7 separate regions of the Homo sapiens genome follow, and regions 1, 2, 4, 5, 6 and 7 are each linked to region 3. The links are contacts of gene promoters, found by promoter capture Hi-C in blood cells and fetal thymus (Javierre and others, 2016). All regions are on one chromosome and are shown on one strand. Each heading gives the region's core, a stretch centred on a gene start or on the middle of the fragment in contact. The rest is flanking DNA. Distances are from core to core; before and after follow the strand shown. Region 1 overlaps MARCHF6 (membrane associated ring-CH-type finger 6). Region 2 overlaps MARCHF6 (membrane associated ring-CH-type finger 6). Region 3 holds the start of ANKRD33B (ankyrin repeat domain 33B). Region 4 overlaps DAP (death associated protein). Region 5 overlaps LOC105374651 (a long non-coding RNA gene). Region 6 overlaps CTD-2154B17.1 (a long non-coding RNA gene). Region 7 overlaps MARCHF6 (membrane associated ring-CH-type finger 6).

Region 1 (3,197 bases), core at 67-2,566, 160 kb after region 3:
AACATTCATTGGGTCCAATGTGTCAAGAAATCTAGACCTCTGAGACGAAAAATAAATACAACCATTACTATCGTAAAAGGGTTATGTTGCAATTTATAAATGTACTAAATAGACGGTCTGATTTGCCTTCCCCCTGTAAATGAAAATCATCACCCAAGAGGCTGCAGGTGATGGGGTAAAGGAGGAGTCTGGGTACTAGTTCTATGTGGTCCAAACTCACTGAGTTACCCTCTGTGTAACGCATCTAATCTGCCCAAACTTCTATTCTCCATCTCCTAAACAAGGGGTTACAGTGTGTGATTTCTAAGGTTCTGCCTAAGTTCCACATATTAAAATTTTATATCAACAAAAACCACCACACTGATAAAATGAAAGAAATCATTATAAAGCATTTTATTCACTTAATGAAGTAATCTGGAGTTCACATATAATTACATTTTTAAGAAACACATTTCTGTACTTGCTTTAGTTCTCAATCAGTTGTTTCAAAGAAAGAATGAAAGCTTTAGTTACCAAGAGAATTTACTGAAATTATACCGTATGATTCAGGAGAATGCTTTGGTCCCTGACCCCTCCTCCTCTTCCTCAAATCTTTCAAAGAACAAAGTACACCAAGAGCAGCATTCAGCCTTTGTGCTTTTGTGTTCCCTTCTCACTGGAATTGTCAACCTGGTCCTCCACACCCTGCACATCTCCATCACCCGTCTCCGTGTAAACCAACATTTTCAATGCTGTATTCATTTTCAGGCTATAAAATCGAGGAGAACAGGAATTGTGCCTTTGTTTCTCACTGAAACCCCAGAATGCAGTATAGTGTCCGGCACACAGTGACCATTCAGTATTTGGGGAATGACTGAGCTTGAGATGTACACTAATCAAATACTCAACTGCTTTCATCATCTTCAAATCACTAAGAACCAGATTAGAAACATAGAACTAATAAAGGTATCAGGCCAGGCACAGTGGCTCACACCTGTAATCCCAGCACTTTGGGAGGCCAAGGTGGGTGGATCATTTGAGGTCAGGAGTTCAAGAACAGCCTGGCCAACATGGTGAAACCCTGTCTCTACTAAAAATACAAAAATTAGCCGGGCATGGTGGTGGGTGCCTGCAGTCCCAGCTACTTGGGAGGTTCAAGCAGGAGAATCACTTGAACTTGGGAGGTGGAGGTTCCAAGATCATGGCACTACATTCCAGCCTGGGCAACAGAGCAAGACTCAGTATCAAAAAGTAAATAAGTAAATAAATAAATAAATAAATAAATAAATAAATAAATAAATAAATAAAGGTAATCCATCAGGCCAGTGAACTGGAATCATAAAGGACCCTCATTGTAATTCTATACTTAAGGCGCCTAAATCAAAATGATTTTACATGTCTGATCCTGCAAAACCATATCCTTTTGGTTATTTCCAGCAGTACAGTTCCTTGAAGTCTGAGACACACTCACATCATACAAAATTCCAAGAGTCTGTATTAGAGGATGGCTAAAGTATATACGAAGTGTGACAAAATGAGTACTCTTATCTTTTTCCTCAGTTGAATCGTCTTTCAAACTCAGACAGAAATATTAAAACTTGCCAATTATGGAGACAAACAACTGAAACAGTTTAAAGTAATTAAGTCAAAGTCCCCTATAAGTTATTCCCTCTTAGAATAAAATAGTAGAGAATATGATTTAGGTAGGAAATCATCATAGCCTTTGAGACATGACTGGTGGTGAAAGCAAAAGTCCTTTTTATAAATGTACAGCATCAGCATTTCCCTGTGGACTTACCTCTCTCAGTAGTAGAATGAAGGAGGCAAAGTAGAAGACATATACCATTCCCACTAGCCAATGCAGAAACATGGTAGTACCTGGAGCCGACTGAAAGCTCAGTTCTCGATCTTTCAGAGTAGCATCAAACATTTCCTGAGACAAAAGAGGACAGGTAAGAGAAATCTGTGCCCCCTACATTTGCCAAGTTAACATTTTCATCTTCTAGGAAATAAATAATCAATATGCATGCAAGGAACAATTCCTAGAACTGCAGTTCACTTAATGTCATTCCACGGTGTCACAGAACTATATACAAGATTGGCTACTGCTTCAAATATAAAGAATGATAAACCAATTAGTAAAAGCTTTATTAATACTGATTCTATTAAAGAACTATTTTTGATGAATGTAAAAAATTTTCTTGGTTATAGGTCTGCATTCTTGAGAAGTTTTAAAAGTAAGGTATGGGAGGGTAAATGTTATCTCAGAACCAAAGGCAGCTTTTCTACACATAAAATATTTTTGAAACAATCAAAAACTGATTATCACTAACAGCAATTAAAGAGTATAATCAAGACTGAGCATATTAGTTAAATCAAATGATTAGGGTTAAATTTATTACTACAAAGACAGTTTCCTTATCAAATTATTCTCTATGTATATAATGTCTTGGCATTATCTACACAAATTTACGACAGCAAAATGGGCAATAAAATCCTCCACTATTAGAAAGATTCCACCCAAACTATCCTGACATCAAAAATTTGCACAAAGCCTCAAAAACTCAGGTACTCAAGAAAAATTAACATTAAGATCCTATACTGATACACATGCCAAAAGAATAAGCAAATTATCAAATATTTGCTTTCCTTTAAAAAGAATACATGCTGAAGACTTCCTCTTTTGAAGCCCTTAAATTATGCTATTATACAATAATGAATACTCAACTTACCAAGGAACAGATATCCAGCCACCAACCACAAATGAGAGGGAATACTCCAATTTCTACCACCACTAACAAAGAGACCTTAAGTGAAAATAAAGGTCATCAGTATCACCCAAATGTAGGAGAAATCATTTCCAATTTTAAGTTATAACAGGAATTACCTTAACAACAATATAGCAGACTCCCAGTAAGCGACGAGATCTATGAAATTTCACAAGAGTTGCCAAGCCCTACAGCATCAGGTCAAGGAAAAACTGAGTATTTAAAGGTACAATGAAACAGGTAACTACTTAGCCAACATTTAGTATTTTTTGACAGAATTAATTTATTTCACATTTTGTCCACACTGACCCTTACTGCAAATACCTACAACTTTTACTAAGAGGACAAGGATAGACAAGTTTCGCCATTAATGAAGAGTTCTTTGGTATGAATAATATTAGTGTACACCCAAGTTGGTTCATTAAAGGATACATGACAAATTATCAGTGT
Region 2 (2,918 bases), core at 36-2,535, 180 kb after region 3:
TACCTCTATCACCATCGCCACCCTACCCAGCTCCAGAAAACTTGAGAATATGTCTAGGTTCATGAGACTTTTCCTTTACCATGGTCAGCTTTCTCGTTCAATCTAAAAGACACCAATTGTTTCCTCATCTCCATTATCTCTTTTACCTTGTGGAACTACTTACTAGACAGACTAGACTAGCCTCCATTTGTCAATATTTATTTCTCATACTTGTAACTATTTGTCCCTCTGAGTTTCATCCTGGGAGAATTCCTTGATACATTTTCTAGCTAACTCACTCTTCAACAGTACCTATATTCTGCTAGTTGGTATCTTCCAAGAATTTCATTTCCATAGGTAATCAAGATTATTTTATCATATTTTAAGGAGACATGAAGATATCAATTATACTAATTAAACATTTAGTTTAACTCTAATGAATCTTATCTATATACTCTGCCTCCCATATACTATGTACTTCTCTCCATGTCTATAAGAACAACAAAGAATCCAAGAGGATTCTTTGGATTGATTAGGGGGGTTGATTAGTATACCACCCTCCCAAAGAGCCTCCTATATCTGAAAGATAAGCCTCCCAATTATTTATGACCATTACATGTATGAGTATTTTTAAATTTTATTTGTATTTTATTGAGGCAAAGTCTCACTCCGTTGCCCAGGCTGGAATGCAGTGGCATGATCTCAGCTCACTGAAACCTCTGCCTCCCAGGTTCAAGTGATTCTCCTGTCTCAGCCTCCTGAGTAGCTGAGATTACAGGCACACACCACCACACCCGGCTAATTTTTGTATTTTCAGTAGAGCTAGGGTTTCACCTTGTTGGTCAGCTGGACTCAAACTCCTGACCTCAAGTGATGCTCCCACCTCGGCCTCCCAAAGTGCTGGGATTACAGGCGTGAGTCACCACGCCTGGCCATGTGAGTATTTTTTTAAAGGAGGGTTGCAGAATCCCAAAAGAATTCATCTTTTGCAGTCCTTTTTTTTTTTTTTTTGCGAGACAAAGTCTTGCTCTGTTGCCCAAGCTGGAGTGCAGTGGTGCGATCTCAGTTCACTGCAACCTCCGCCTCCTGGGTTTAAGCAATTCTCCTGCCTCAGTCTCCATGTTGGCCAGGCTAGTCTCAAACTCCTGACCTCGTGATCCGCCTGCCTCGGCCTCCTGAAGTGCTGGGATTACAGGCATAAGCCACCGCGCCCGGCCGTCTTTTGTAGCCCTTGAAAGCTCTAGCATACTTCATATCTAATTATGATTTGATTTGATTTTTTCAACGCTTTCATGAACTTTCATGGTTAGCCATTCTGTATGCTGTGTTCTTTCCCACATTCACTCAAAAAACTGACCTGTTAAACTCATTCTTAGTTCCGATGAACATCTTCTAAGTAAGGCTTTCCTAATACATGACACTCTGACATCAAATAACTAAACATCAGTCAAATAATAATATGATGCAATATTGCTTTATAATATTAAGTAGTTATGCAATGTTTAAATAACTCCAATCAGAGGCATGAATACTCACATGCTGTAAGAGGAACAACTCCCAACCATGCAAAGGCCACAAGTGTATAATGAAACCAATATCGTATTGCAGTGCCAATACTTGTAACCAGTCCAGCAAATATGTCTTGAATTGGAAGCCGTGAAGGCATATCTGGAGAATAAACTATAAGCGGAAAAAAAGTACTTACAGTTTCATGAAGATTCGAAAATAGCTTAATTCATAAATATAAAATAGACATTAACTAAACTTCCAATATTTGCCTTGTGCTTAATTTTTTTCCTATTTAAAAAAAATAAACCAAATAGTTATAATATCACATTTACCCAAGAAGTCATTTATGAGGCAAATCACATGTGAAACGTGGAAATCAACAAAGGCCTCTGGGCAGGAAAAAAAAATTCAATAGATGTTCACATCCCTTGCTAATAGCCATGAACCTCATACAAGGCCCATTTACACACATTTTAACATTCAACCAATATAATCATCTGGTTTCCCAAACTATAAAAGATGTAATAAAGCAAACAGGAGCAAAAGATGAAGCTGACAACAAGCCATCAACACTCCCCCAAATATAAGCATTAAATAGCACTCAAAAAGCACAACAGTCCGCAGCAGATCATTTCATGTGGGAGCAAACATCCCACTGACATTTGTTAGCCACTTTCCCGATGTTAGCATAATACTTAAAATTTCAAATGATAAATTCAGATCTTCCCACTACTCTGAGAAATGTGGCTCAACACATTCAGAAAAAGAAAAGTTCTGCCACATTTAAAAAGGATTCCCTTTTAAAATGGTTCCAATAAAAAACCACTGCCTATTATCAAAAACCTCTACCACAGGTAGCTCGGAAAGAACATAAAGGAAAAACAAACAATTCTTTCTCCAGTAAGGCCAAAACAAGAAATTATGATATATCAGGGTTTAAAAGCAATGATCTAAAATTTATAAGAACACTATCACAAAACTGTTCACACCTATAAACATTGAGAAATAAACAACTGACAAATAGCACCTTTTTTTTTTTTTTTTGAGTCAGAGTCTCACTCTGTTGCCCAGGCTGGAGTGCGGTGGCATAATCTCAGCTCACTGCAAACTCCGCCTCCCAGGTTCAAGTGATTCTCCTGCCTCAGGCTCCCAAGTAGCTGGGATTACAGGCGTCTGCCACCACACCTGGCTGATTTTTGTATTTTCAGTAGAGACAGGGTTTCCACCATGTTGGCCAGGCTAGCCTCAAACTCCTGACCTCAGGTGGTCCGCCTGCCTCAGCCTTTCAAAGTGCTGGAATTACAGGGGTGAGCCACAGCACCTGGCCACAAATAGCAACTTTTAATGGCACATGCCCACAGATCATTGACTTCGATAGGATATCTGGTATACAAGAGCAAGTCATTAAAACCAGGAATAATAGAGATTTT
Region 3 (2,744 bases), core at 175-2,674:
TGGCATTGGCTCGCGAAGGTGACCTGCGGACAGACCAGTCAGAGATCACGTTGGCTGGTCGCGGCGCGGGCCACAAAGCTCAGCGGAGGTGGGGTAGGGGACCAAGCTGTCCCGGCGAGGGAAGAAACTGTTGCTTCCAAATCATTGCGGCTGGAGGAGCCGATCTGCGCCCCAGCGTGTTAGGACAAGGGCGGCGCGAGGGGCCCAGGGGCCAAATGGGGCGCTGGGCAGGAGGGGCTGTCTCCTGCAGGGGAGGAGGAATGGTCCCCTGCCAGGGACCTGGGGAAAGGTAATAGTCAGGAGGGGACCGGGCCGCAAGAAGCCCATCCTGGATTGCAGCACGGGCAGCCAGCGCGAATTCAGTCAGGAGGTCCACGGGGACCGGTAAACGAGAAGGGGATGCGGTGAGGACGCCGGACTGGCGTTTCTGCCGCGCTGACACCTCGACTGCTCCCTCCCCGCACCGCGTCCCCCAGCCTGAGACGGGGAAGCCACCCAGGGCACCGCGCTCCCAAACAGCGGGGAAAAGGCGCTCTGGGCGGCGGCTGAGTGACCGAGGGACCGGTCCGGAGCCAGGAGCTGGGAGGCGCGGGGATGTGGTGGGGAGGAGGGGAGTGGGGGCAGTGAGGGGGCTCAAATCCTGCGGGGACGCCCGCTTACCCTGCCGTTGCGGTCAGTCTCCTGCGCCTCCTCGACGCTCACCCCGCGCCGCACCAGCGTCCGCAGCAGCCCCACGTTGTTGGCGCAGGCGGCGCGCAGGAGGGTCGCCGTCTCCGGGACGCTTTCCGGGACGCCCTCCGGGACGCTCTCCGCGCTCTCGACGCCGTGCTCCTCCTCGTCCTCGAAAGGGTAGAAAGAGTCGTCCGAGGCGATGCTGCGGGTGTCTGGCAGACTCGAGAAGTCCTCAAACTCTTCGTAGTCAGCGGGGTCCTCCTCGACCTGCGCGCCCCGGGGTGGGGACGGCGGTGGTGGGGTCATGCAGCGCGCCCCGCCGCCCTCCGGCCCGGTCCCGGCCAGCAGCACCATGCCGGCGGCCGGGGCGCGGGCCGGGGGCCGGGGCGCGGGCAGGAAGAGCGGGACGCGGGGCGCGCGCCGAGGTCCCCGCTTCTCGCTTCTGCGTCCCCAGAGAAGCCGTGGCCCGCGCGCTCCAGCTCGGCGGAAACCGGCACCAGGCGGCTGCGCTCAAAGAAAAAAGTCTCCGGAGGCTGAGCGAGCCCCTGGGGTGGGCGGGACCGCGGGGGCTTTCCGAGGCGGGGCGGGGCGGGGCGCGGGGACACGCCTTCCCCCGGGGCCTTCCCCTCGCGCCCCTTCCTGGCCAGAGTTCAGAGCCAGGCAGGCGCTCTCTCGAGCGCGGGGACTGGGCACCTGGCAGCGTTGCCCCAGAGCTGGGGACAGCTGGCGCGGGAGAAGCAGAAGCAATCACTAAAGAAGCCGAACCCGAGTCGCGGGCGGCAAGCGGCCCCGCCCCTCCCTCCGCCGGCCCGCGGGATGGGGGCGGAGGTGGCGGCGGGGGGACGCCGGGGCGGAGCCGGCCTCCAGCTTCGGGAACCTCGGACCCCTGGAGCCGGCCTCCGCCGAGGGCGTCGGGCCCCCGGACCTGGGTGGGGCCGGTTTCTCCCGCCGCTTCAGAGGAGCAGAGCGGGTTTTCTCCCTTCGGGGGATCCCGGGCTTCGGGGCTGACTCCACCCGGCCGCGGCCGCTTGGAGGCCGGGGAATCCCCGGGGCGCTTGGCGGGCAGAGGAGCCGGGCGCGGGAGCGGAGCCGTCCACCTGGGACCTGTGCCCGGGGAGCGCTGCGGGCCGGGCCACTCTGAACTGGGGGCGGTCGGCTGCTGTGGGGGAGTCCCAGCCCGGAAGGGAGGACAATCCTCAGAGTCCCCCGTCTCGCGGAACCGGGGCCGGCCGTGGCTTGAGGGTTGGTCAGATCCTGGGATGGGGGGCGGGGTGTTCCGGAACCTCAGGGAGCATCTGAGTGGGAACGGACGACGAGGAACTCCCCGTCCCCATGCCTGGCCTGTGTCACGTGCGGGGATCTGCGGACTCACCCCCGGAGGCTGCGACTGGGCGCTGACCCCACGTCTGGCTGCCCAAAAGAGCAGGGCCGCGGGCGACAGCCGCAGTCCAGGCCCACAGCCCCTCTGGCCCGGCCTTGCCCTCTCCCCGTCAGTCCTGGCGCCGGGGATGGGCGGGGAGGAGGAGGGCGTGTGAGGATTTGCCACAGGGAGCCCTTGACTTCGGGGTAGGAGGCGTCGTGAGCCAATCTTGGGGGAAGGTCTCTGCGCAAAGGCGCGGAGGTGCGCTCGCGCCCGTCGCAGGTCAAAGACTGCGGAGGCCACCAGCCCTGTGTCCCCCTAGCCTCCTTCCTTCCTTTTTTTCCCCCGATCTTGACAGCGTGTCCACCAGCTGCCAGCCGGTGGGAGGCCCTCGCGGCCCCAAGGTGAACACAGCTAGGCTGGCGCAGCCGCTGGGGACCAGGCTTGAGGCCCACGTGCCGCTGGGCAAGCTGAGGGGCACGAGGGCACCGAATCCGAAACAGCCGTGGGAGGTGTAGGATGAGGACACGTTTAAACTGCGAAGCCGCTCGAGCCCTCGTGTCACACCGCACTGGCCCGACCCGCTGTCCTGGTCGCCTGGTCTTCCAGTGTCTCCAGCAGGAGCCAAAGGGCCTGCTGGCGGCCCCCGACCCGGCATCTGCAGGGCCCCGGAGGGTGGGGCGCGCGGGAGCACCGATTTCTGGTGAAGACG
Region 4 (2,864 bases), core at 1-2,500, 170 kb before region 3:
AGAATTCATCTTTGATATCCTGTTTTTCATTTCCACTTCCATTTGGCTTTTAAAAATGTATAGCTTCCATTTCTCTGCTGAAATTTCCTGTCTTTTCACAGATATTTATCACAGTTATTTTAAATCTTCATCTGATGAGTCCAACATCCAGGCTTGGTCCCTCATTCTGTTAACTGTTTGTTTCTTTACAGTGGGTCACATCACTTCTTCGAGGGTCTTTTAATTTTTAAGTAAAGTAAAACCTGGTGTGTAAAAGAATGACAGAGACAGAAATAACACTAGAAGCTGAAGTAAATAATATTTACATCAGTCCAGAAAACAGCATGCCTTTTCTGTTCAAACCCATTCGTGTGTGTGTGTGTGTGTGTGTGTGTGTGTGTGAGTTAATTTAGTATTTATAGTTGAACCGGGCCTGGGCTGTATTGCTGCTTAAGTTAGATTCAAGACCTCACAAATATCAAATTAATTGAAGGTAGGATTATAACCTTCCCACTTGTAGTGGCTTAGGATATGAATGCCTGGAAGGTGTGTCTATTTTCCTGCCCTGCCATTGGACTTCAGCAGGCTCTGTGTGTGTGCTGAGCCTTGTGGGCGAGAGCCTTTCAGTTCCCTCATCCCTTTCCAACCAAGATGGACCTCTTCTTGGTCCTGGGTGAGGCCTAGAGTGCCAGTGGGAATCATAATATTTGCCTCATGTGATTATAATTCACTGGTCAATTAGACAACATATAAAAACACCTCAACCATCTCAGTCACGTATTAAGTGATAGCTGTTATTACATCTGTGGTGATTTTTTAAAACTTTTTGTTTTGAAATAATTTCAGACATACAGAAAAATTGCCAAAAAAAAAAAGTACTAAAAAAATCCCATCTACCCCTCACCATATTCCTCATATGGTAAAATTTCACCACACTTGCTGCTCCTCCCATTTCTTTCTTTCTTTTTTTTTTTTTTTTTTTTTTTTTGATTCAGAGTCTTGCTCTGTCACCCAGGCTGGAATGCAGTAGTGCGATCTCGGCTCTCTGCAAGCTCCACCTCCCAGGTTCACGCCATTCTCCTGCCTCAGCCTCCCCAGCAGCTGGGACTACAGGCACATGCCACCACGTTCGGCTAATTTTTTGTATTTTTAGTAGTGACAGAGTTTCAGCGTGTTAGCCAGGATGGTCTCGATCTCCTGACCTTGTGATCCACCCTCCTCAGCCTCCCAAAGTGCTGGGATTACAGGCATGAGCCACTGCACCCAGCCCTGCTCCTCCCATTTCTTAACGCTCACATATATCTAAATCTACATCTGTCTGTTTATACGAACTTTCTTCTGAAGAGCTCTTTTACTCTGGAATGCTTTAGTGTGTGTTTACTAAAAGCAAGTACTGTATAATTATCAAAATCAGGAAACTAACATTGAAACAGTAGTGTTATCTAATCTACAGACTCTTCAGACTTGGCCCATTTTCCCACTACTGCCACAAATTTCAGTCCAGGATTATACCTTCATTTAGTGATATATCTTTAGTCGCCTTTAATCTAGAACAGTTATCCAGCTTTTTAAAATCTTTCATGACCTTGACATGTTTGAAGAGTATAGGTCATTTATTTTGTAGGATTTTCCTCAGTTCAATTTTTCTGATGTGCCTTCATGATTGGATTCAGGTCCTGCTTTCAGGGCAGGGGCTGCACAGAAGCGAGGTCTTGTCCTTCTTGATGCATTGGATCAGGAGGTACACGACACTCCCCATCTCATGGCCGGTGATGCCAGCTTTGATTGTTCAGTTAAGATGGCATCTGCCAAGTTTCTCCACTATCAATTTACTATTTTACCCTTTGTAATTCATACATATCTCATGGGGGAATACTTTGCAACTCTATGAGTATTGTGTTTCTCATCAAACTTTTGCCTGCTACTTTCAGCATTCACTGATGATGCTTGCCTGAAACAGTAACTACTGCAGATATACTGTATTTGTTTCCCAGGGCTGCCTTAACAAAATGCCACAACCTGGGTGGCTTTAAATAACACATTTGTCATCTCAGTTCTGGAGGCCAGAATGCTGAAAGCAAGGTGTTGGCAGGTTGGTTGCTTCTGAGAGCTGTGGGAAGCATGTGTTCCATGCTGCTCCCCTAGCTTCTGGTGGTTTCTGCAATCTCTGGCATCCCCTGGCTTGTAGATGCATCACTCCAGTCCTGTGCCTTTACATGGTTTCTCCCTGTGTCTCTACATCATCTTTCCTCTTTGTGTGTCTTTGTGTCCAAATTTCCCCTTTTCATAAGGACACTGGTCATATTGGATTAGGACCCATCCTGATGACTTCATTTTAACTGGATTAATAAAGATCCCACTTCCAAATAAGCTCACATTCTGAAGTACTGGGAGTTAGGATTTCAGCATGCCTTTTTTGGAGGACACAAGTCAACCCGTAGCAGATGCCAAATGGTGATCTATAGCAATTTTTAATGGTTCTCTCAGTCAAGTTCATTGTTAAGATAATAAATAGAAAATTTAAAACTTCAGTTAAAAGATGGCCCAGCAATGTGCCAGCTTAAATCTCAGGCATGTATGCCTGGGAATTTTTATCTTTAGCCATGATCTGCATGTTTGAACTTTAAGCCGTTTGGTGAACCAATTTCAACATTACCCTTAAGTTCTAATGTCACCTTTTATATCCAGGCTAGTTGCCAGCTGCCTTTTAAGAGGGGCGTGTCCCTGTTCTCTACCATGTGTGTGGAGATTTCAGTAGACCAGGGATGCTGAGCACCGGCCAGCTCTCAGCTCCAGTTTTTTTTGTTGTTGTTGTTGTTTTGTTTTTGTTTTTGTTTTTTTTTTGAGACAGAGTCTTGCTCTGTCGCCCAGGCTGGAGTGCAGTG
Region 5 (2,842 bases), core at 234-2,733, 240 kb after region 3:
AATCAAGAGGTGGGACCTATTTCTCTATCCCTTGACTCTGAGCTGGCCTTGAGACTTGTTGTAACCAATAAAATGCAGCAGAAGTGACATTGTGAAGCCTCTGAGAATAGGCCTTAAGAAGTATTGTAAATTCCATTTTTAATCACTTGGAACACCCAGGGTCCACGGATGAAAAGTCCAGCCGGCAGCTGTACCAAGGCCCCAGACATAGGAATGAAGTCATCTAGACCCTCCAGTCTCAGTGAGCCCAGATGAGACCAGCAGAATCGTGAGGAACAATACATTGTTGTTTTAAGCTACTAAGTTTTAGGGACATTTGTTCTGCAGCAGTACATAATTAATGCAAATAGTATCCTAAAAGGTGACAGGATGGATTCATTTTCCTATAAAAATAGACCTCATCTCTAAAAAGAAATGAGACATTTCCAAACTTTCCGGAACAGTAGAGTAGGGTTTCACCTTTGAAATAAGAAAGCAAGGTTGTTCAAGAAAGCCTATGATTTTAGATTCAAATGCCAAAATAAAATACTCTTTACCCACTTAACATGCCTGAGGAGTTTGATCATTGAGACTAAGAGCTAGTCAGGGAGAAAAGAAAAAGAACTTGATGCTGGGCACAGTGGCTCATGCCAGAAGTCAGGAGTTTGAGGCCAGCCTGACCAACATGGTGAAAACCCATCTCTACTAAAAATACGAAATTAGCTGAGCATGGTGGCACATGCCTGTAATCCCAGCTACTTGGGAGGCTGAGGCAGGAGAATCACTTGAACCCAGGAGGTGGAGATTGCAGTGAGCTGAGATCGCACCACTGTACTCCAGCCTAGGCAACAAGAGTGAGACCCGGCCTTAAAAAAAAAAAAAGAACTTGATAAAGGGGTTTGATGATGGTGATTGTGCCTCATTTTGCCCTTTCCAGTGCTTTGCTCGCTCCCAACTGGAAGGAGCCGGAGGCTGCCCTCCTTTGCACTTCACTGCCGTTTGCATTAGTGAAATCGTGCTCTCCCTTTCTGCCCTTTCTTCAAAGCAGCTCTCTCTGCACTAGTAGACATTGCTGTTTCCAAAAGGATGCGGTTTCCCTGTACTCTGTGGTCTCACCCTGACATCATGACATCACTTGCAAGAATTTGAATTAAAACTTATGCCCCCAGGTTATGATTTCAGGAAGAACTTCTCTGTTGTTTTAGTGGAAAAAACCCACCTGATTGGATGATACTCCTTTCATGGGTTCTCCTGAAATTAAGGAATTTGGTAACAGAGTTTATTCCTCTATTTGCCAATTCTGAGCAGCAAATACCTGGAGAAAAAAGAACAAGAAATTATTGTCAAACGTGGTGGGTTCACACCTGTAATCCCAACACTTTGGGAGGCCGAAACAGAAGGATCGCTTGAGCCCAGGAGCCCCAGCTCAGCCTGGGCAACATAGGGAGACCCTGTCTCGCCAAAAAAATACAAAAATCAGCCGGGCACAGTGGCACATGCCTCTGGTCCCATCTACTCAGGAGGCTGAGGTAGAAGGAGAGCTTAGGTCTGGGAGATGGAGGCTGCAAGTGAGCAGTGATTGTGCCATTGCATTCCAGCCTGGGCAGGAGAGCGAGACCCTGTCTCAAAAATTAAAAAAAGGAAAGAAAAGAAAAGAAATTATTGTCTATGTTATATAATATTTGTCTATTTCTGCATTTTACATTATTTTAATTTGCATACTATAAAATGGTCTCACTATGTTGCCCAGGCTGATCTCAAACTCCAAGGCTCAAGCAATCCTCCTGCTTTGGCCTCCAAAGTTTTGGATTACAGGTGTGAGCCATTGTGCCCAGCCAAAATTGACTTTCAAGTTTGGTGTACAGTTCTGTGAGTTTAACAGGTGTATAGATAGTACAGATATATGTATCCACCACCAAAATCAGGACACAGAGCAATTTCCTTCCCTCAGAAAACCCCCTCAAGTACGTTTTTGCTGTCAAACCCACCCCCGACCTCAGCCATTCACAATCACCAGGTTTCCCTTCCTGCAGGGTCACCTTTCAGAGTGACGTATCAATGGAGTCAGGTAGGTGGTAACCTTTTGAGACTGACCTCTTTCACTTATTCATTCATGTTTTAAGATGTATGAATACTTTTAAAAAAATATCTGAGTAGGCCAGGCGCGGTGGCTCATGCCTGTAATCCCAGCACTTTGGGAGGCCGAGGCGGGTGGATCACGAGATCAGGAGTTCAAGATCAGCCTGGCCAAGATGGTGAAACCCTGTCTCTACTAAAAATACAAGAAAAAAAAAAATTAGCCGGGCACGGTGGCCGGCGTCTGTAATCCCAGTTACTTGGGAGGATGAGGCAGGAGAATTGCTTGAACTCAGAGGGCAGAGGTTGCAGTGAGCCGAGATCGCACCACTACACTCCAGCCTGGGCAACAGAGCAAGACTCCGTCTCAAAAAAAAAAAAAAAAGAAAAAAAGAAAAAAAAAAGAAAGAAAATCTGAGTAGTATTTCATTATATGGGTTACTAAGATTTGTTTATCCATTCGTTCACTGAGAGATGTCTGAGTTGTTTCCAGTTAGGGGCAATTACAAATAGAGCTGCTATAAACATGTCTTCATTTTATTTTTATTTTTAAAATTTTATTTTTTCATTTTTTTATTTTTTGGGGACAGAATTTCGCTCTGTCGCCCAGGCTGGAGTGCAGTGGCACAATCTCGGCTCACTGCAACCTCCGCCTCCCAGGTTCAAGCGATTCTCCTGCCTCAGCCTCTGAGTAGGTGGGATTACAGGTGCGTGCCACCACACCCAGCTAATTTTTTGTATTTTTAGTAGAGATGGAGTTTCACCATGTTGCCCAGGCTGGTTTTGA
Region 6 (2,942 bases), core at 245-2,744, 210 kb before region 3:
GTGTGTGCGTACATGCCCTGTAGCTCCTGCAAGCAGTTGTCTGAAGCAGCCTCTGTCCTCTGCCACACACATATTTTCTCTTTCTGCCTAACACATCTTTCTCTTCCATCTCAGCCCATCAGAACAGAGCTGGGCCTTCACTAGTCTGGACGATCAGCTGCTCAGAGCCTTGCATACAGTGGGAGGCTGAGGAATGTTCTTTCTAGAAGAATGTGAGTATCAGGGGCAACTCCAACCACATCTTTTCCCTTCTCTTGTCTGCCTCTCCTTCCTTACCTTTCAAATTCACATCTGGGAACCTTTAAAGAGAAAAAGACGCCTGGACTGGGAGGCTGGTGGGAATGAGGAAGGAGGGAGAGCCGTTGCTGCCTGTTTGCCTAGCAGTGGTAGAGAGTTTGTGGACTGGCCGTGGATGTCAGAGCCTGGGGGCTTCTCTAGGATCTTCTGAAGGGCCTCTTCCTTCTCACCAGTGAAAACCTAGACTGATCTCCAAGACCTGAGCCTTTGTATAGCTTTTGGGTTTTGTCAGGCCTCTGCAGCTACTGTTTAGGCCATTGGGGCAGCAGCCTGAGTCACCACTCAGGGTTAGAGATGAGGGCCAGAGCCCTGGCCTTCTCTCTGTTCCCTGAGGCTGTGCTGCACCAGCCTAACATGTGCTCACAGTTTGCCTGTGTTGTTCTATAGTCTTTAAACATAATAGCTTCTTTAAACAAGGGCCCACTGAGGCAGGCCCCTCATATTCCCATTTCACTCTTGAAGAAACTGAGGTATGAATAGGTGAAGTAACTTGCCCCAAATCTTACAGCCAGCAAGTGGCAGAAGCAGAATTGGAAGACAAAGTTCCAGGTTCCCAGCTAAATCTCTAACCTGCCACTCACGGGCCGGAAGCAATGTTTCCGTTTATTTGCTAGTTTCCATAATCTCTATTGTGAATCTCTCTTCAATCAGTTTTGTGTCTTAAACGTAACCAAAGAAATCCAAACTTCCCAGGCTAAGCTGAGGATCTTGGTGTGGAGTCCACTCCTGCTGTGGGGCCTCTAACTCTTGCTCCACTCCATGCCCTGACTTGGTTGCAACCAGGAGATGGCTCCCTGTGCAGACTCAACAGGTTAAAGCTGGAGGAGCCATCCATCTCTGAACACAGCCCCTTGCTCTACCCTGGGGGAATCGAAAGCCAAGAGAGTAGGAGATTCATCAAGGTAGAATGCTGGATTCAGGCTCAGCCAGCCCGTCTCAGGCCCATCTTGTGTTTGTCCCTCCACCTGAGGGTGCAGACTGGGCTCTGCTGGCAGGTGGAGAGTGGGTATATGGGAGCCCCTAGACAGGGGACAGATCATTGCTGTTGGCCACTGGGAGGAGCTGCAGCAAGAAGCACAGAAGCATGTCTTAGAGCCATTCCAGGGCATGATGGAGCTGCAGATAGATACCCACATAAGTGTGGGCATTGGCAAAGCGATGTGAACACTGGGGCTGGGGTCTCTCTGTTCTCCCCAAAGACCCAAGACCTCGCAGAACTATGATAAGGCTAGAGGAAGACTTATTTTTATTTCATTTTTTTCTTTTTTACCTCTAAGGTGATGCCTCGTGCAAAGCTGGTGCTCAAAATATATGATTATGGATGGATAGGTCAACAAAGACATAAACAGCAACAACCCTGGCTGCTCGGCCCTTTTGCTCTCGTCATTGGCTTCTTTTTCCAGAGCATGCATCTTCTAATAGGTCTAACCCCAACAGTGATCAAATGGGACCTCTGTTCTATTCCTTTCTTAACTGTAATCATGAGTTTCACACGGCTGTCATTTTACTGCCTGCTAGGAAAAGGGAATATGTTTGAATTTTATAAGTTTCTGAATTTCATAATTTTTTTATTTTTAGAGGTGCTCCAGGCTGACTCCATACCTCCCACTGAATGACAATTGTTCTAAAGGTAGACATTCTTATTTCATCATCAAGAAAAGCACTCTGTAGTGAACAAGGGCACTCACGCAATTGGATTCATGGAGAGATGTTTGTTTTTCTCCCACTTGTTTACTGTTGCTGGTGTTAGATCAAGTCTGGCCTTTACTATTCCATTAAAAAATGACCATTTGTGATTAGATATTTACAAAAATATATTCAGAATGATATATTTCAGATATTACATTTTTTCTAACAGTTCGTTTTAGTTTTGAATAGAAGCCTTAAAATACTTGGCCAGGTGCGGTGGCTCACGCCTGTAATCCCAGCACTTTGGGAGGCCGAGGCAGGCGGATCATGAGGTCAGGAGATCAAGACCATCCTGGCTAACACGGTGAAACCCTGTCTCTACTAAAAATACAAAAAATTAGTCGAGCGTGATGGCGAGTGCCTGCAGTCCCAGCTACTCGGGAGGCTGAGGCAGGAGAATGGCATGAACCCGGGAGGAGGAGGCTGCAGTGAGGCGAGATCGCACCACAGCACTCCAGCCTGGGTGACACAGTGAGACTCCATTTCATAAATAAATAAATAAATAAATAATTGGAAAAGTAAGAGTTAAAAATAAATCATGGAAAATCATAAAGTGATTCATTATCTGAAATACTTTCTGAGTACAAAGCACTTTGTTTCCTCTTCTTTGCTGATACCTGCATGTGAGCTAAAATGTGAAGGAAGGCATTTGTGATCTGATTTTGTGTCTACAAATGTCTATGCCTAACCTTGAGCTGCTGCCTTTGTTGGTGTGTGAAGTGATGCAGCAGAGCAGGGGATGGCAAACCTTCTGCAAAGGGCTAGAGTCAATTTATTGTACTTTGGGGGCCAAATGTGTCTGCCACGACTCCTCAACCCCGCCATTGTAGCCAAAAAGCAGCAATGAACAATATGTAAAGAAATGGGCATGACTGTGTTCCAATAAAACTTTACACAAACAGGCACCAGGTCAGACCTGCCTTGCAGACTACTGTTTACCAACCCTGTAGTAAACA
Region 7 (2,957 bases), core at 203-2,702, 210 kb after region 3:
TGCCACTGTACTCTAGCCTGGGCAAAAAGAGCAAAACTCTGTCTCAAAAAAAAAAAAAAAAAAAAAACACACACACATACAACTTTTGACTCCCGAAAAACTACTAATGGAAAACTACTAACAGCCTACTGGTGACCAGAAGCCTTCCCATAACATAATACAACATAAACAGTAGATTAATACACATATTGTACTACTTTTTTTTTGAGACGGAGTCTTGCTCTGTTGCCCAGGCTGGAGTGCAGTGGCGCGATCTCGGCTGACTGCAAGCTCCGCCTCCCACGTTCACGCCATTCTCCTGTCTCAGCCTCCCAAGGAGCTGGGATTACAGGCACCCGCCACCACATCCAGCTAATTTTTTCTATTTTTAGTAGAGACAGGGTTTCGCCATGTTGTCCAGGCTGGTCTCGAACTCCTGACCTCAGGTGATCTGCCTGCCACCGCCTCCGAAAGTGCTGGGATTACAGGCGTGAGCCACCGCACCCAGCCTTTGTATTACATTATACTAGGTATTATGAGTACTCAGGAGATTATTTAAAGTACAGATCTGTGAACATCACAGTTTGAACTACATGGGTCCACTTATACGCGGATTTCTTTCTTCAATAAATATATTGGAGAATTTTTTGGAAATTCACAACAATTTAAAAAAAGATGAACTGTGTAGCTTAGAAGGAGCAAAAAAAATAAAATTATGCCATGAATGCATAAACTGTATTATATGTATTGCGTACTGTATTATATGCTGCATTCTTACAATATGTATTGTAATATTATATACTGTATTCTATATTATATACTTTATTTTTACAATAAAGCTAGAGAAAAAAATTAAGAAAATCAGAAGGAAATTACATTTACAGCACTGTACCATATTTATTGATACCTGTCTGTTTACAAGATAAATCATTCTGAAATGGCCAGCAACCACAGCTACAAACCTCAATCTATGGCACATATGAAGCAATTCGACTTTTTCTTCATAATGTCATGCCTTTTTTCAGCTTCCTGGAGCACTTCCAGCATCACTTAGTGGCACCTCATATGGATCCCATCATGTTATTCAAAGTTTAGGGTACTGCACTAAATGCAATGAAAAATACAAGAGAATCCAGAGAGATACTTTTTACCATATACAATTTACTGGAGAGATGAGCTCCAACAACAGCAACACTTGAGCTCACAACAACAGCAACGGAAGGTGGCCACAAAATTATTACAGTAGCACAGTATGCACTACGGTTAATTTCATGCAGTTATGATTTAATACTGTATCTTTAAGTTTCTTTACATCTCTCAACTGTGAATGGTGCCATGTACAGTCTCCATTACATGTTTGTGTGTGTAAGTTTTGATAAATTTTAACATTTCATGACAGATTTGTATATATTTTATGATAGTGAGTAAAAGACTAGTATCTACATATATTTTATGCATTAATGACATAACTTTTTAACTTTCTCACTATTTCTAGACTACACAGTTCATCTGCAAGTTTTTTCAAATTGCTGCAAATCTCCAAAATTTTTTTCAATATATTTATTGAAGAAAAAAATCCATGTGTAAGTGGACCCATGTAGTTCAAAAACCCATGTTGTTCAAGAGTCAACTGTACTTTAAATTATCTCTAGATTACTTAGAATAATTATAACATAAATGTTATGTAGTCATCATACTGTATTGTTTGAGGAATAATGACAAGAAAAAAAGGCTGTACATGTTCAGTACAGAGGTAATCATCTATTTTTTTCCAAGTATTTTCCATCTGACATTGGATGAATCCACAGATGCGAAACCCACAAATACAGAAAGCTGGCTGCATATCAAGACAATTTATGTCTCACGTCAGCTCAAAACCCTCCCATAGCTCCCTATCTCACTATAAAAGTCAATGAAGTCCTACATGCTCTCTCCCCATTGGCTCCATATCTTTCTGACCTCATATTATACTTACTCTTCTCCAACTCTTTTACTCCGTTACAGCTACACTGCTCTCCTGGTGATTTATTGAACACTCTAGGCATGCTCCCATCTTAGACACTTCACATAGGCTATGTTCCCTCTGCCTGGAATGCTCTGCCCAGAGTATCTGCATGGCTAACTCCTTCTCCTTTGCTCCTTCTCAGTGAGGCCTTCCTTTACTGCTATATTTAAAACTGCGACCCCTAGTGAGCCAAGATCGCGCCACTGCACTCCAGCCTGGGTGACAGAGCAAGACTCCGTCTCAAAAAAAAAAAAAAAAAAAGCAACCCATGCCCTCATATCCTGGCACTTCTTATTCCCTCCCAATTCACTGTTCTCCACAGCGTTTATAACCTTCTAGTTATGCCATATAATTTACATGTTTATTTTGTCTTAAGCTAATAACTATAATGTAAGCTCTATGAAAGAAAGGATTTTCTCTATATTGTTCCTTGCCTAGCCCAAATGCATAGAATAGTGCCTGGCTCATAACAGGTCCTCAGTAAACATTTAACGAATAAATGCATGTACACTTGGTCACAAGCATGCCAAAACAGTGAAAGGTAATGCGTGGTAAGAAACATGCAGCAGACATCTCTGGAAACAAAGAAGACTGTGTGGGTCTAGAAAGAGAGGAACTAGCTGTCTGATTCTGACAACTTTCTATCCTTTTAACTCATTTCTTCCAAATTTAAGTTACCTCAAATTTTTGCCATAGTGATATAGAACATGATCAACCATAATACTCTTTAGCTTCACACTTTTCGAATGAATATGTTCCGTAAAGCATAAAGAACAGCTGCTTTGGTATTCTGTAATAAAATTACTAAGACTTTGTATTATGTTGTGCTAATACAAGCAGTAATTTAGCAAAATGGAAAAGAAAAAAAAAAAAACCTCAGCTTTATATCACTGAGCCGAAATGTGGGCATTCTATGACAAAATGTTTAATATTATCTTTGAGAACTGCACATCAACACTTGCAACATCTATTC

The links. The method cuts DNA at HindIII sites, captures the fragments that hold promoters and counts their contacts. A CHiCAGO score of 5 or more calls a contact.
Region 1: a fragment that was not itself captured here is called in contact with the fragment with the promoter of ANKRD33B in region 3 in 3 of 17 cell types (neutrophils, total B cells and activated CD4 T cells); the score reaches 12.8 in neutrophils.
Region 2: a contact is called between a fragment that was not itself captured here and the fragment with the promoter of ANKRD33B in region 3, in 3 of 17 cell types (neutrophils, total B cells and naive B cells). The highest score is 17.6, in neutrophils.
Region 4: a contact is called between a fragment that was not itself captured here and the fragment with the promoter of ANKRD33B in region 3, in 1 of 17 cell types (total B cells). The highest score is 5.3, in total B cells.
Region 5: a fragment that was not itself captured here is called in contact with the fragment with the promoter of ANKRD33B in region 3 in 1 of 17 cell types (neutrophils); the score reaches 11.9 in neutrophils.
Region 6: a contact is called between a fragment that was not itself captured here and the fragment with the promoter of ANKRD33B in region 3, in 2 of 17 cell types (neutrophils and total B cells). The highest score is 6.5, in neutrophils.
Region 7: a fragment that was not itself captured here is called in contact with the fragment with the promoter of ANKRD33B in region 3 in 2 of 17 cell types (neutrophils and total B cells); the score reaches 14.6 in neutrophils.

Annotation. Positions count from the first base shown.
Region 1 is chr5:10,402,122-10,405,318 of GRCh38, reverse strand. It overlaps MARCHF6 (membrane associated ring-CH-type finger 6), which reads right to left. Exons shown (of 26, transcript NM_005885.4): 12 at 3,180-3,197; 13 at 2,867-2,935; 14 at 2,712-2,786; 15 at 1,778-1,912. MIR10397 (microRNA 10397) reads right to left here and starts at 2,955; the gene lies at 2,888-2,955. The HindIII fragment of the contact is 1,621 bases long and covers 506-2,126 here.
Region 2 is chr5:10,380,541-10,383,458 of GRCh38, reverse strand. MARCHF6 (membrane associated ring-CH-type finger 6) reads right to left here. Exons shown (of 26, transcript NM_005885.4): 4 at 1,516-1,659. Among named protein-coding and RNA genes, the nearest start is that of MIR10397, 20 kb to the left of the region's middle. The HindIII fragment of the contact is 3,399 bases long and covers 1-2,918 here.
Region 3 is chr5:10,562,750-10,565,493 of GRCh38, reverse strand. It overlaps ANKRD33B (ankyrin repeat domain 33B), which reads right to left and starts at 1,424. Exons shown (of 4, transcript NM_001164440.2): 1 at 661-1,424. The coding sequence starts at 1,026. RefSeq lists enhancers at 241-450, 1-466, 467-1,361 and silencers at 591-640, 981-1,840. The HindIII fragment of the contact is 7,834 bases long and covers 1-2,744 here.
Region 4 is chr5:10,737,305-10,740,168 of GRCh38, reverse strand. All of the region lies in intron 2 of DAP (death associated protein), which reads left to right. Among named protein-coding and RNA genes, the nearest start is that of DAP-DT, 22 kb to the left of the region's middle. The HindIII fragment of the contact is 5,428 bases long and covers 1-2,864 here.
Region 5 is chr5:10,326,746-10,329,587 of GRCh38, reverse strand. LOC105374651 (a long non-coding RNA gene) reads right to left here. Exons shown (of 5, transcript XR_925786.3): 3 at 1,199-1,294. Among named protein-coding and RNA genes, the nearest start is that of CMBL, 20 kb to the right of the region's middle. The HindIII fragment of the contact is 4,718 bases long and covers 1-2,842 here.
Region 6 is chr5:10,774,234-10,777,175 of GRCh38, reverse strand. It overlaps CTD-2154B17.1 (a long non-coding RNA gene), which reads left to right. Exons shown (of 4, transcript NR_188230.1): 3 at 115-212; 4 at 1,876-2,535. Among named protein-coding and RNA genes, the nearest start is that of CTD-2154B17.1, 11 kb to the left of the region's middle. The HindIII fragment of the contact is 6,699 bases long and covers 1-2,942 here.
Region 7 is chr5:10,357,255-10,360,211 of GRCh38, reverse strand. The region is part of intron 1 of MARCHF6 (membrane associated ring-CH-type finger 6); the gene reads right to left. Among named protein-coding and RNA genes, the nearest start is that of MARCHF6-DT, 4.7 kb to the right of the region's middle. The HindIII fragment of the contact is 7,315 bases long and covers 1-2,957 here.